Linked DNA regions of Homo sapiens: all the other regions are linked to region 1. The links are contacts of gene promoters, found by promoter capture Hi-C in human tissues and cell types (Jung and others, 2019). All regions are on one chromosome and are shown on one strand. Each heading gives the region's core, a stretch centred on a gene start or on the middle of the fragment in contact. The rest is flanking DNA. Distances are from core to core; before and after follow the strand shown. Region 1 holds the start of BCL11A (BCL11 transcription factor A). Region 2 has its middle 430 kb from the start of MIR4432. Region 3 has its middle 380 kb from the start of MIR4432.

Region 1 (4,066 bases), core at 707-3,206:
GTGCTGGGGGCGGACCAGGACCACGGGCCAGGCTGGCGCGGAGACACTGCGTGGCCTGCCGCCGTGCCTGGCGGGTGGGCGCCGGGCGCCGGGTGGGCGATCCGGGGCTGGGCTGGGGCGCGGCGAGGTCGGGCAAGGCCCGGGCGAGGCCAGGCCGCCGCCGCCGCCTGCTCCGGGGCTGCCGCGCCGCGCTCGGTCCTCTGTCTGTTTGTTGGCAGGAGGCTCCCGCACACGCGGTGCTTGTAAACATTCAGACACGAGATTTTTCCCAATCAAAATCCACTTCCACTTTTTTTGAAAATCTTCCAAAAAATAGTAAGAGGAGGGAGTTCCTCTCTCCCTCTCCGTGCCGTCGGCGCCCTAAGTTTGCAACTGAAGGGGTTTGGGGGAAGAGGGTGATTGTAAATTTTTTTCTAGATGAGAGATTGTGAGATTTTTGCAGGGGGGCTGGTGGGGGAGTCAAAGAGAAGGCCGTCACAGAAAAGGGTTGGCAGAGCGTTTGGCTTCGGTTTGGGGGCAAGAAATTGTACATTCTCTTGCCTTGTTTTATTTATTTTATTTTTATGTATTTATTTATTTATGTGCCAGTCTTCTCCTTGCTGCCTCTGAGGTTCGGTCGGGAGGGGAGGGCAGCGGCAACCCAGGAGGCAGCAGTCCGGGCTCCCTCCCTCCCTCTCCCGCGTGCCCCCGGCCGCCTCCTCCCCCGGCCCTAGCTCCTGCCCTTCGGCGGCGGCGGCGGCGGCGGCGCGGGAGGGCAAGCGCGAGGAGCCGGCACAAAAGGCAGCGGGACAAACACCCACCTCTGGCCGGAACAAAAGGCGGCAGTGCCGGCCGCGTCTCCCGTCCTTCCCGGTCCCACGGCTCTCCCCGTCGCCGCGGCCCCTCTCCCGACTCCGCGGACTCAGGAGCGCCGGGGGCCCCTTTCCACAGTGCCACTTTCTCACTATTGTGGGGATGACTACTTTCCTCCCGCTGCACACTTGACCGTGAGCGCGCTGGTGTCCAAAAGCCAGTCTCACCTCTTTTCTCCCCGGGAATCGTTTTTTAGACTTGTACTCACTCCCTCCCTACCCCCCCATTTTCTTACGGTGAGTGGGAAGCAACCTCCCTTTCCCCACCAGCTCCCACCCCCAGGTTTGCATGTGAGTTGTTCGCAACCTTAGCATTGTTCATTATTTTGCAAAACTGGCGGGGCGGGGGGGGAGTGGAATCATTGCATTCCTTTTCGAAAAGAGAAATAAAGCGGCGGAAAGGAGGAAAGAGGAGGAGTCAAATTTTTGTAAAATTAAATAAAATTAAAAGGTGCGTGCTGTCTCAAAAGTGCATACACGGCAATGGTTCCAGATGGGATGAGGGTTTTTTCCCCCTTTATCTCTTTTACCTCGACTCTCGGAGGTTTTTCTCGTGAAAAATTTAAAAATGCATGCACACACCCCTCTCTCCCCCTCGCTTTTGCTTCTAGTCCTGCGCGCTCTCGTGATTATTAATAATTATTATTACTATTATTGGGTTACTTACGCGAGAATTCCCGTTTGCTTAAGTGCTGGGGTTTGCCTTGCTTGCGGCGAGACATGGTGGGCTGCGGGGCGGGCGGCGGCGGCGGCGGCGGCGGCGGCGGGCGGACGACGGCTCGGTTCACATCGGGAGAGCCGGGTTAGAAAGAAGGAGACTCCAGAGAAAATATCTTCATCAGTGCCTTTTGACATCCAAAATAAATTAGAAATAATACAAAGATGGCGCAGGGAAGATGAATTGTGGGAGAGCCGTCATGGCTTTTTTTTAAGCAAAAAAAAAAAAAAAAAAAAAAAAAAAAAGAGGGAGAGAGAGAGAAGAGAGATAGAGGGAGAGAGAGAGAGAGAGATGAAAAAAATGGCAAAAGCCCCCCTGAGCTGCAAGTTCAAGTGCGGACGTGACGTCCCTGCGAACTTGAACGTCAGGAGTCTGGATGGACAGAGACACACAAAACATGGGCAGGGCGAGCAGGAGAGAAGGGGAGGAGGGAAGGGGAAGCTCACACCAATGGACACACATCAGGGGCTGGACATGAAAAAGAGACCAGGACAAGCCAATGGCCAGTGCGGGGAGGGGGAGGTGCGGGGCGGGGGGCTCCGCGGACGCCAGACGCGGCCCCCGGGGGAGGGGCGGGCCGAGGGGAGGGGGCGCTGGGGCCGCGGGCTCACCAGTGGCCGCAGCGAGCGCCGCGGCGGTGGCGTGGCCGGGAGAGAAGAAAGGGGTGGCAGGGGTGGGAGGAAAGGGTGGGGGGGAGCAAGACGTGCGCCCTGCTCCCCCCCACACACGCGGACTCTAAAATGAAAGATTATTCAAAAAAGAAAAAAATAGAGCGAGAGTGCACCGGGAGGCTGCAGCCCCGGGCTGGGGAAGCGCGGGCGGAGGGAAGCCAGGTAGAGTTGCTCCCGGACACCCTCCTCCGTACGCACACCCACTTCCCCTCCCCGCCGCCGCCGCGCTCGCTCCCCGCGTGTGGACGCCAGGGGCCGAAGTAAAAGCCCCGAGCCCGCGGCTGCGCTCGGGAAACTTTGCCCGAGGAGAGGACAGCAAAGAAAAATCACCCGAAGTTGAGAGCTGAGCCTCCAAGTTACAGCTCCGCAGCGGGCGAGGGGAGGTGGGAGGGAGCGCACGGCAACGCGGAATCCAGCCTAAGTTTGGAGGGCTGCGGGTCCGGAAGGGCAGCGCCCAAGTCTCCAGGAGCCCGCGCGGCCTGGAAAGAGGGGACCGGGGAGAGGCAGGCGGCGCAGGCCGGGGCCCGAGGGCGCCCCCAAGGCCGAGCCAGGGACCGGGAATCTGAGCGCCCCGCCAAGCGACTGGGTCTGAATGCAACTGAAAGCGCCGAGTCCCCGGCTCCTAAGGGTCGCAGAAAGAGAGCCCGAGGAATAAAGAACGAGGAGCCAGAGTCTGGCCCCCGGAGGGGAGCGCCGGGGGCCTGGGCAAGAGAGGCACCGAGGCGTCCACCTCTCTGAGAGGCCGAGGACAAAGCGCGGGCAGTCCCGGGAGTCCCAGTCCCTGGGAATGTGCTCACGGCGCCGCGGGAGGTCCCCGAGCCGGGTCCCTGGGAGGGACACACCCCCTCCCACTCCAGAGCAACTGCAAAAGCACAGAGGGATGGGAAGAAAATGTTTCTTACGGGCAGAGCACAACTGTTCCTGTGCTGTTACCCAGGGAAAGAGAAAATGGGAATGGAGAGAGAGCGACAGGCTCGCAGGAGCAGCGGGGAGACCACGGTGGTGAGATGACCGCCTCGGGTCACCGCCGCGCTCCCCAGGCGCCGCCGGCCAAGGCGCACACCCAGGAGCCAGCAGCCCCCTCTCGCCTTTCTGCAGACGTTCCCTGGAAATTAGGGAAGACCTGTTGGAAATAAAACCCTGTCTCTTTAATGCACACACGCACACACACGCGCGTGCTGCCGCTGTCAAAAAGCGGGCTTCACTCTGGCGTGGGATACTTTCAGTTTTACGTAAAATGTACAGCAACAGCACCCCCTGCGATTGGAAAGTTTATTCAGAAACGTGCCTGTAAAGTCCCCTGGCGCCTCCCGCCTCCCAGCCTCCCTGCCTGCCAGCACCACTCTGCAGCCGCCGCCGCCGCCGCCGGGGAGATCGCAGTCCGATTCCAAATCTGGAAGGAGTTGGGGGGAGAGGAGAATGGACTCAGGTCCAAGGGAGGTGCGGAGGGTGCAGGGTGGAGACGGGTCGCCATGGCCCGCGAGACCCTGAGCTGCAGGTGGATATGTGTGAGTGTGTCTGCAGAGCGAGGAGCCCTCCTTCCCTCTCCTCGGAGCGGTTCCACAACCCCCGTCTTCTCATCCCCCTCTTCAGTCTAAAGGGTGTCGCTTCCGTAAACTCACCCACCCGGTGGGGGGGCTTTATTGTTTTAAGCGAGGGCCCCGGGCTTGCACGCGCTCACCCATCCCGCAGCCCTGCCGGCAAGCGGCTGTTTATTCCTGTTTCGTCTTAGTAAAGTTTCAAGTCTACTGTGTTAGAAAATGACTGGCTTGCCTAGCTCGGCGGAGCTTCGGACCCCTCTAAGGAAGAAAAGGAGGTTTTGATGC
Region 2 (4,066 bases), core at 753-3,252, 600 kb before region 1:
ATAAAAACCAGTCTGACTTCTGATCCTCCATTTGTTCCACAAGAACAAGGAAGACAGAGGAAAAAGAAGAGGGATGTAAGTGAAGAATACAATTGGAAAGAGAAGATGAGAGCCTTATGGGTTGGAGAGATAAAAATGAACTGTCTGGGGGAAGAAGGAGGCACAAAGCCACAGTGGTAGCTTCACAGGAAGTCTATTGATCCATTTTACAGATGAGGAAACTAAGGTCCAAACAGGTTCTGTGACATGCCCCAGGCCACGCAACTACTTAGTGTAAGAGCCTGGTCTAGAGCTCCCCTGATTCACTGCCCAGTTTTAGCACCTGATACCACCTCTAGAGTAAAGAGATAATGAGCAAAGAAAGAGATGAGGAAAAGAGGAAAAACAGTTAAGAATGGAAGAAAGAGTATCTTAGAAGTTAAAAGCTAGAAGGTCAGCATACAATTTCTATTTTAGGAGTAAATTGAAAACATCATACCATTATCTGAGTGGACCCCACATGTGATTTGCAGAATCCAGCAAACAACTTGTCAGCCCTGTAAGTTTTCTGTCTGGAATGGTGGCAGTTGTAGACATAGGCCTCTGAGAGTCTTCCATCTCATTGCCTGATTTCCACAGCTAGGCCTTCACATCTGCAGTGTTTCTGTGGCTAAAACAACCAGTCAGGTTTTATCCCAAGGAGAACTCTTAATAGTGAATTCTGAGACAATCTCTGAGACCTTGTCCTTTTAAGTGGGTTTTGTATGGAAATGAAATTTGTCCCTTCTAGCTCCTTGGATAAAGAAGCTAAATGAGCGTTTATGGAAATTATATATCCCACGAACATCTCTTCTAACAGACAAGCTGTCTAGCTTGGTCCATGTGTGGTGAGCAAGAAAGGTTAGACTCAGAGTGGAGTGTAAGAAAACCTTCTTCATAGCCTGTCCCCTTTTTCAAGACCCAAAGTTAACTCTTTTATAATGCTGTACCCTAAACATGGAGCATCAGATAAAAGCTTGCCTGCAGAAAAGTCCCCCAGGGAGGCAGGGAATCAAGAGTGTGCTACTGCCTTGGCCTCAGGATGCAGTCGGCGATGTCTATACCAGGGCTTAGGCTGTGTTGAGGGATGAGGAAACTGTTTTAGTTTTTATTTTCTAGGCTTTCTCTCCTCCAGTCAATGGCCTTCCCTTTTTTCACAACTGCATGCAAAAAGGCTTTGATTCCTGGCTCCCTCACCACCCTTCGCTAACATGCGACAATTATGTGGCTACAACAAATGGCCAGAATATAGCTGGGCACACTATGACCCCCTGGATTAGAAAGGAAACACTGAGCAAGCGGAATGGTGGCTACTTCACTGGCTTTGTCAAATAGCCTGCATTTGTGAGGTCAAGGCTAATTTATTTATTCACTTATTCATTAAGTCAATCAACAAGTTAGCATTGCATGTATACTCTGGGTGAAAGAAATACCACACTGGTCAGAGTATCCAGAGGTGGATAAAACACATTCCCTGCTCTCAAAGAGTTTGCCACCTTAGAGAATCCATTTCATCTTACTCTTTGCCCAGCAACTACATCTAGAAACAAATGCTCGTATTGATAAAGCTGCCTCATTCTCTGCTCTAGCCTTATTTCAGTTTCTAAAAGGTTGATAATCCTTTCTGCCACGGGGCCATTTTCTCTTTCTGGGATGTTTTTCCCCGCTGCAACCTTTTCCTTACCTGTTAGCTCCTATTCAGCCTTTAGATCTTGGCCGAAACACCACTTCTCAGGGAAATCTTGTTTTCGCATTCAGCCTGGGTCAGTTTTCCTTGTTCTATCTCCCTTTTCCTTTTCAGTTTGTGATTAGATTTCCATTAATGAGTTATTTTTTGTTTATGTCTGTCCCCCTGCTGGAAGTGAGCTTGGAAGAATAGGGATGGTGGTTATTTTTGCTCAACATTGACTCTTCACGCCAGCCAGCAGAGAGCCTGGAACATAGTGGGCACTCAGGAAATACTGGTTGTTGAATGAATCAAAAGGAAACAACAGAACACTGCTATCAATACATCGTACATCCTAGTTCTTCATGCTAAGTGACCAGGTTGAAACTACTACTTATATAATTACATTGAAAACTTTACTTGAATATACATATATTCCAAGAGTCAGTGTGGAGGTTTAAAAGAATAGACTCTCCCCTTTCACCGTATACAAAAATCAACTCAAAATGGATCAAAGACCTAAATGTAAGACCTAAAACTTGTAGAAGAAAACACAAGGGAAACAATTCAGGACATTGGTCTGAGAAAAGATTTTATAAATAAGACCTCAAAAGTACAGGAAGCAAAAGAAAATAAAACAAATGGGTTTATATCAAACTACAAAGCTTCTGAACAGCAAAAGAAACAAACAGGAGTGAAAAGACAACCTATGAAATGAGAGAAAATATTTGTAAACTACTTATACAACAAGGGATTAATATCCAGAATATACAAGGAATGTAAACATCTCAACAGCAAAATAAATAAACAAAAACTCAATTTTAAGCTGGGAAAATGATATGAACAGACATTTCTCAAAAGAAGAGATACGAATGACCAAAAAGTATATGATAAAATGCTCAACATCATTAATCATCAGGGAAATGCAAATCGAAACCACCATGAGTTATCATCTGACCCCAGTTAGGATGCTTATTATTGAAAATACAAAAAACGACAAATGCTGATGAGAATGCAGAGAAAAGAAAACTCTTATACACTGTTGGTGGGTAAACTAGTACAGCCATTATGGAGAACAGTATGGAGGTTCCTCAAAAAACTATAAACAGAGCTACCATTTGATCCAGCAATCCCACTACTGGGAATTTATTCAAAAAAAGGAAATTGATATATGGAAGAGACATCTGTACCCCCATGTTTATTATAGCACTAGTCACAATAGCCAAGATATGGAATGAACTTAAGAATCCAACAACAGATGAATGGATAAAGAAAAAGTGGTATATATGCACAATGGAATATTAGTCAGCAATATAAAAGAATGAAACCCTGCCATTTGTGGCAACATAGATGAACCTAGAGGATATTGTCTTACATGAAATAAGCCAGGAACAGAAAATCAAACACCGCATGTCCTCACTTATATGTGGAAGATTAAAAAATAAAGTTCATCTCATAGAAGTAAAAAATAGAACAGAGGTTACTAGAGGCTGGGAAAGGTAGGAGGAGGAGAGAGATAGGGAGATATTTGTTAAAGGATACAGAATTATAGCTGGATAGGAGGAATATGTTCTAGTTTCTATGTTATTGTAGGATGACTATAGTTAACAATAATATACAGTTTCAAATAGCTAGAAGGAGAATTTTGAATATTACCGAAACAAATAAATGATCAATGTTTGACATGATGGATACGCTAATTTCCCTGATCTGATTACTATACATTATATGTATCAAAACATCACTATGTATCCCATGAATATGTACAATTACTATGTGTCCATTTTAAAAATTAATTCAATTTTTAAAATGGACTCTGAAATAAAATCTGGCTGGCTATGTTCAATACTCACCTCTGCCAACTGAATAACCCTGGACAAAGGCTTAACCTTAGGCTAAAAAGGCTAAAAATTAGCTCCCCAAAGGATATTTATATCAAATCCCTTGAACCTGTAAATGTTACCTTACTTGGAAAAAAGGTTTTTGCAGATGTGAGTAAGTTAATGATCTTGTGATGAGGATATAATCTTGGGTTAGCCAAGCAGGCCCCAAGTGCAAACACATGTATCTTTATAAATAGACACACAAAAGAGAAGACCCATAGACAGCAGAGGGAGAGGCCAGGTGACTGCGAGAGCAGAGATTGGAGTGAGGCTGCCACAAGTCAAGGAGTGCCAATGGAAATGAGAAGCTGGAAGAGGCAAAGAACGGATTCTCCTCTAGAGCTTCTGTAGTGAGCGCAGCCCTGAAGACAGTTTGATTTCTGACTTTTAGCTCCTAGAACTGTGAGACGGTAAGTTTATCTTGTTTTAAGCCATACAGTTTTTAATAATCTGTTACAGCAGCCACAGGAAACTAGTCCAACCTCTCTAAACCTCAAGT
Region 3 (4,066 bases), core at 622-3,121, 550 kb before region 1:
ACACACACTCATAACACACAAACACACACATTTCACACATGCACCCAAGAAATGCTTGCATAACAGCAGAAGCAACTACATGATTATGTACCATAGGGTGCAATTCAGAGGTGCAATCCTTTTCCACCTAGGGGCTGGGGTTGTAGGCCTTCTGTGGAGGAGAGTGAACCTTGAAAACAGGACCACAGCCTGTTTGAAATGAAAAAATTCCACAACCACAGAACAGCAAGGGTCTTCAGAATGACCTGATAGTACCTGTAAGGGAAGCAATACAGGAATTTGTAAGCAAAAACAACCAGTATAGAACCTGGGGAAAGAAGAGACTTATGGACTAAGAAAAAATCCCCTGGGAGACAAGAACACAGAGTTTCACACCAGACCAAAGAATTGAGAGCATCTTTCTTCTTTGACCTTCATCACCTTCTCAAATAAGGTCTTTGGGAGCTCAGAAGAGTCCTGGGTGATTTGGAGACCACTCTAGAAAGGCCCTCTCATTTCATACTTCACAAAGCATTTTCATACCTGTTATCTCACTGTGCCTTCTCAACAACCCTATGAATAAAAAATTTTTAATTACCCCCATTTTTAAAACATAGATAAGTATAACTGACTTTCTAAGAGGTTAAGGGATTTTCCCAAGTCATAAGTTAGCAAATACTCAAACTGGAATCTCATTCCTGTTTTTAAAGTTCAAGATCAGTGTGGGTTTTTTTTTTTTTTTTAACTACATGATAGTGTTGGGAAATGAAGACCTGCTCTCATGTCATAAAAAATGCCAGCCTGAGCCAGGGTCCTGCACAGGGCTTCCCCAGCCCTCAGGCCCCTGCTCTGAATAACAATACCATCTAATCATCAGAATTTCAAAGACAAAAGCCACAGCAACTCTTTATGATCACTGTGATAAATTAGGGTTCCGATCCTTTATATACACACTCAAGGACTGGAAGATGTTAACAGAAATAAATGAAAAATCCGTATATCACCCCGAGGCAAATTTTAGTTTGTTTTGCACAATCAATTCATATTTCAGTACTTTGGCCTTTTGCTAAATATTGGAAGAAAAAAGAAAGGAGGGAGGGAAGAAAAGAAATGGAAAAACTGATGTTGAAAAGGCAAAGCCCACTTTTTGACACCCTAGCTAGGTCATGTTGAATGAAAGGGACACTGGCACATTTAAAAGGACCATTTAACTGGATTCCTTAAGCTGGGTCTTGACAAGAAGCTTGAAGCAGGAATTTACTCTTTCTACTCATGGAACCCTGGCTGTGAAAACTGTCTGCCTTAGCCAAGTTTTTTTGAGTTCAGAAGTCAGCTAGATTTCTGAGCTTATAACTCCAACAGCACAGCCAGCCCACACAAGCTCCTCACCCTGTTCTACAGACTAGAGCAAGGGCTCCAAATCACAGGTGAGGAAGGTCATCTGAGTAGGAAGAAGCTGGGTTGCAGTGGAATCTACGCCTGCTGAGAAAATCCAGTGTCTTTTAAAGTCAGGAGGCAAGTGCTGTGACTGAGGTTTCAAGTTAGGAAAAGAAATGAGAATTGGGAGTCACTCAGCAGGGATGTCATATTAATGCAAGCATCTGAAACCCACCCAGTCCTTCAAGGGGCAGTAAAAATGTCACCTCCCCCAGGGGCAATTTCCCCTTATTCATTACTACTCCTGCCACTTCTTCTGTCTGCAGCTCATGCTGTCCTGTGTCAGTCCGTACTTAGGGGCAGAGAGGCAGGAAGGTGGGGCTGTCATTTAAACTCTGTGTTTTCTACACCAGGGGTCAGTAATTGACGGTCCCTGGGCCCACTGCCTGTTTTTATGGCCCACAAGCTAAGAATGGTTTTTACAATTTTAAATGGTTGAGAATAATCAGAAAAAGAATAGTGTTTTATAACAAAGAAAATGATATGAAATTCAGTGTCCACAAATTTTAGTGGAACACAGATACACCCATTTATTTACCTATGGTGGTTTTCACACCACAGCTCAGAATTGAGTAGCTGCAACAGAGAATGGATGGCCCACAAAGCTTAAATATTTACCACCTGGCTTTTTGCAGAAGGAACCTGCTGATCCTTGGTCTGGACTATAGCAAGAACTCAAGGAATGTTTGGGGTATAAGGGAAAGAAGAGAGTGTGAGGAAAGAAGGACGAGAGGAGGCATGGGAAGGGAAAGGAGAAAAACTAATGTAAGAATTAAAAGTAATAAAGAAAGGAAATAAAGACAGTTAAGGAATTCATTTAAGGAGTTAAAAGGGAGCAGAGGTCAGTCATTCAGGTTTTCATAAGCCATTGGATGTAAGAATGGCTATTTATGTTCCCAGATTCAGAGGATCCCTTGTGAGTATTAACACCAAATTGGTGGCTGTCCAAGAAGACATACCAGGAAATCAGTCAGGTGCCCAGCAGAAGTAGCTCAGAGCCAAGATCCCAGGACAGAGACAGTGTGAAGGGTTAAATTTCCCAAGCTGTAAACAGTGGTCTGTATTTCAGCGTTGTAACCATTCTTTTCACCCTTTACTCCTTCTATGCTCAGCCCATTATACCCCACTCCCATGGAGCAGAAGAGTCTCTGCTAGTTATCCCATTTACTGGACTTTCCAGGCTCATCACTTTACCTTTTGCACATTCCTATTTGGACACCTTCTCAGCAACCTCTCAATCAACTTGTGTCATGGAAAGTTTCAAGTCCTACTGCAGGTCTTCTGGATTCTTGGATAACCCGTCCACACTTGGCTACTCTTTCCTCTCTGGGTTCTCTCAGGACTTCACCTGCAGCACTTGGAATACTGGCTCAGCACTTGCCCTGCACTTAGGATGTTGCATTGAACACAATGACAGTTAAACACTGAGCCGGCTTTGAAGGAAGTTGTACAGCCAGTGCCTACCTCTATATGTCCAAAATCTCACCAGGGCTATCCCAACTAGAGTCATCTTTTTATCTCCTCAGCCTTTGTAATTATGTCCCCTCTTCTGTTCCTCATTTATCTTATTTTCTCTTTTGTTAATTAATTCTTCCAGAGATTTATTGTTAGTGCTTCCAAATGATCAACTTTTGGCTTTGTTGATTTTCTCTATTGCATATTTATTTTCCAGTCTACTCATTTGTACTTTTATTCTTTCTTCGTTATTTTTCCTTCAATTTTGTTTGACTTTATACTGCTCTGCTCTCCTAACTCCTAAAATTGAACATTGAATTAATTAATTTTGAGCTTTTCTTATTTTCTGATATGAGTACGTAAGTCTACAGCTTTCTGTCTAGGTCTTGTATTAACTATACCCCCGTATGTTTATGGGGGTATAGTTTATGTTTTGATACATAAACAACTATCCTGCAATTCTAAATATCTTGTGATTTCTCCTTTGACACGACTTACCTGAATGTATTTGTCTTAATTTTCAAACATATAGGTTTTTTCTAGTTAGTCTATGTTATTGTTGTATAATGTAATTGCATTGTGGTAAAGGGTGTGGTCTGGGTAGCTATGACCCTTTGAGATTGGCTGAGACCTGCTATAGGGCTCAGTACAAAGTAGATGACCATACATGTTTCATGGGTTCTTGAAAGAATGTGTGTTCTGCTGTTGTTGGCTGTAATGTTCTACGTATGTCCATTAAATCACATTTGTCAATTCTGTTGTTTAAATCTTTGTAGCCTTATTAATATTTTCTCTCCCTGTTCTATGTGTTACTAAAAGAAGTATGGTAAAACCCAAACACTATGGTAGGTTTATCTATTTGTCCTGCCTATTTTGTTGTATAAATTGAAAAGATATATTACCTCTTAGAGTTGTAATGTTTTCCTAGCGATCTGGATTTTTACCATTGTGTGATGACTCTCTTTAATAATGCTTTCATCCAAAATTAACATAGAAATCTCAGATTTGTTTTGATTAGAATTTGCATGGGGTATCCTTTTCTATCCTTTGTCTTTCAATATTTCTGTGTGCTTATGTTTTCATTTATAAAGAGAATTTAGCTTAGTTTTTTAATCCAGTCTGGAACCATTGTTTTTTAATGAAAGAGTTCAGGTTACTTGCATTTATAATATTTACTCTTATATTTAGGTTAATT

Evidence for each region. Contacts are between HindIII fragments. The study calls those that stand out against the background at their distance.
Region 2: a contact is called between a fragment that was not itself captured here and the fragment with the promoter of BCL11A in region 1, in 1 of the 25 tissues and cell types used here (lymphoblastoid cells).
Region 3: a contact is called between a fragment that was not itself captured here and the fragment with the promoter of BCL11A in region 1, in 1 of the 25 tissues and cell types used here (spleen).

The regions. Positions count from the first base shown.
Region 1 is chr2:60,551,698-60,555,763 of GRCh38, forward strand. BCL11A (BCL11 transcription factor A) reads right to left here and starts at 1,957. Exons shown (of 4, transcript NM_022893.4): 1 at 1,519-1,957. The coding sequence starts at 1,573. RefSeq lists silencers at 1-27, 88-147, 668-1,027, 2,437-2,526, 3,467-3,596 and enhancers at 3,217-3,266, 3,841-4,066. The HindIII fragment of the contact is 9,532 bases long and covers 1-4,066 here.
Region 2 is chr2:59,953,164-59,957,229 of GRCh38, forward strand. No RefSeq gene overlaps it. Among named protein-coding and RNA genes, the nearest start is that of MIR4432, 430 kb to the right of the region's middle. The HindIII fragment of the contact is 4,681 bases long and covers 1-4,066 here.
Region 3 is chr2:60,000,933-60,004,998 of GRCh38, forward strand. No RefSeq gene overlaps it. Among named protein-coding and RNA genes, the nearest start is that of MIR4432, 380 kb to the right of the region's middle. The HindIII fragment of the contact is 3,989 bases long and covers 1-3,866 here.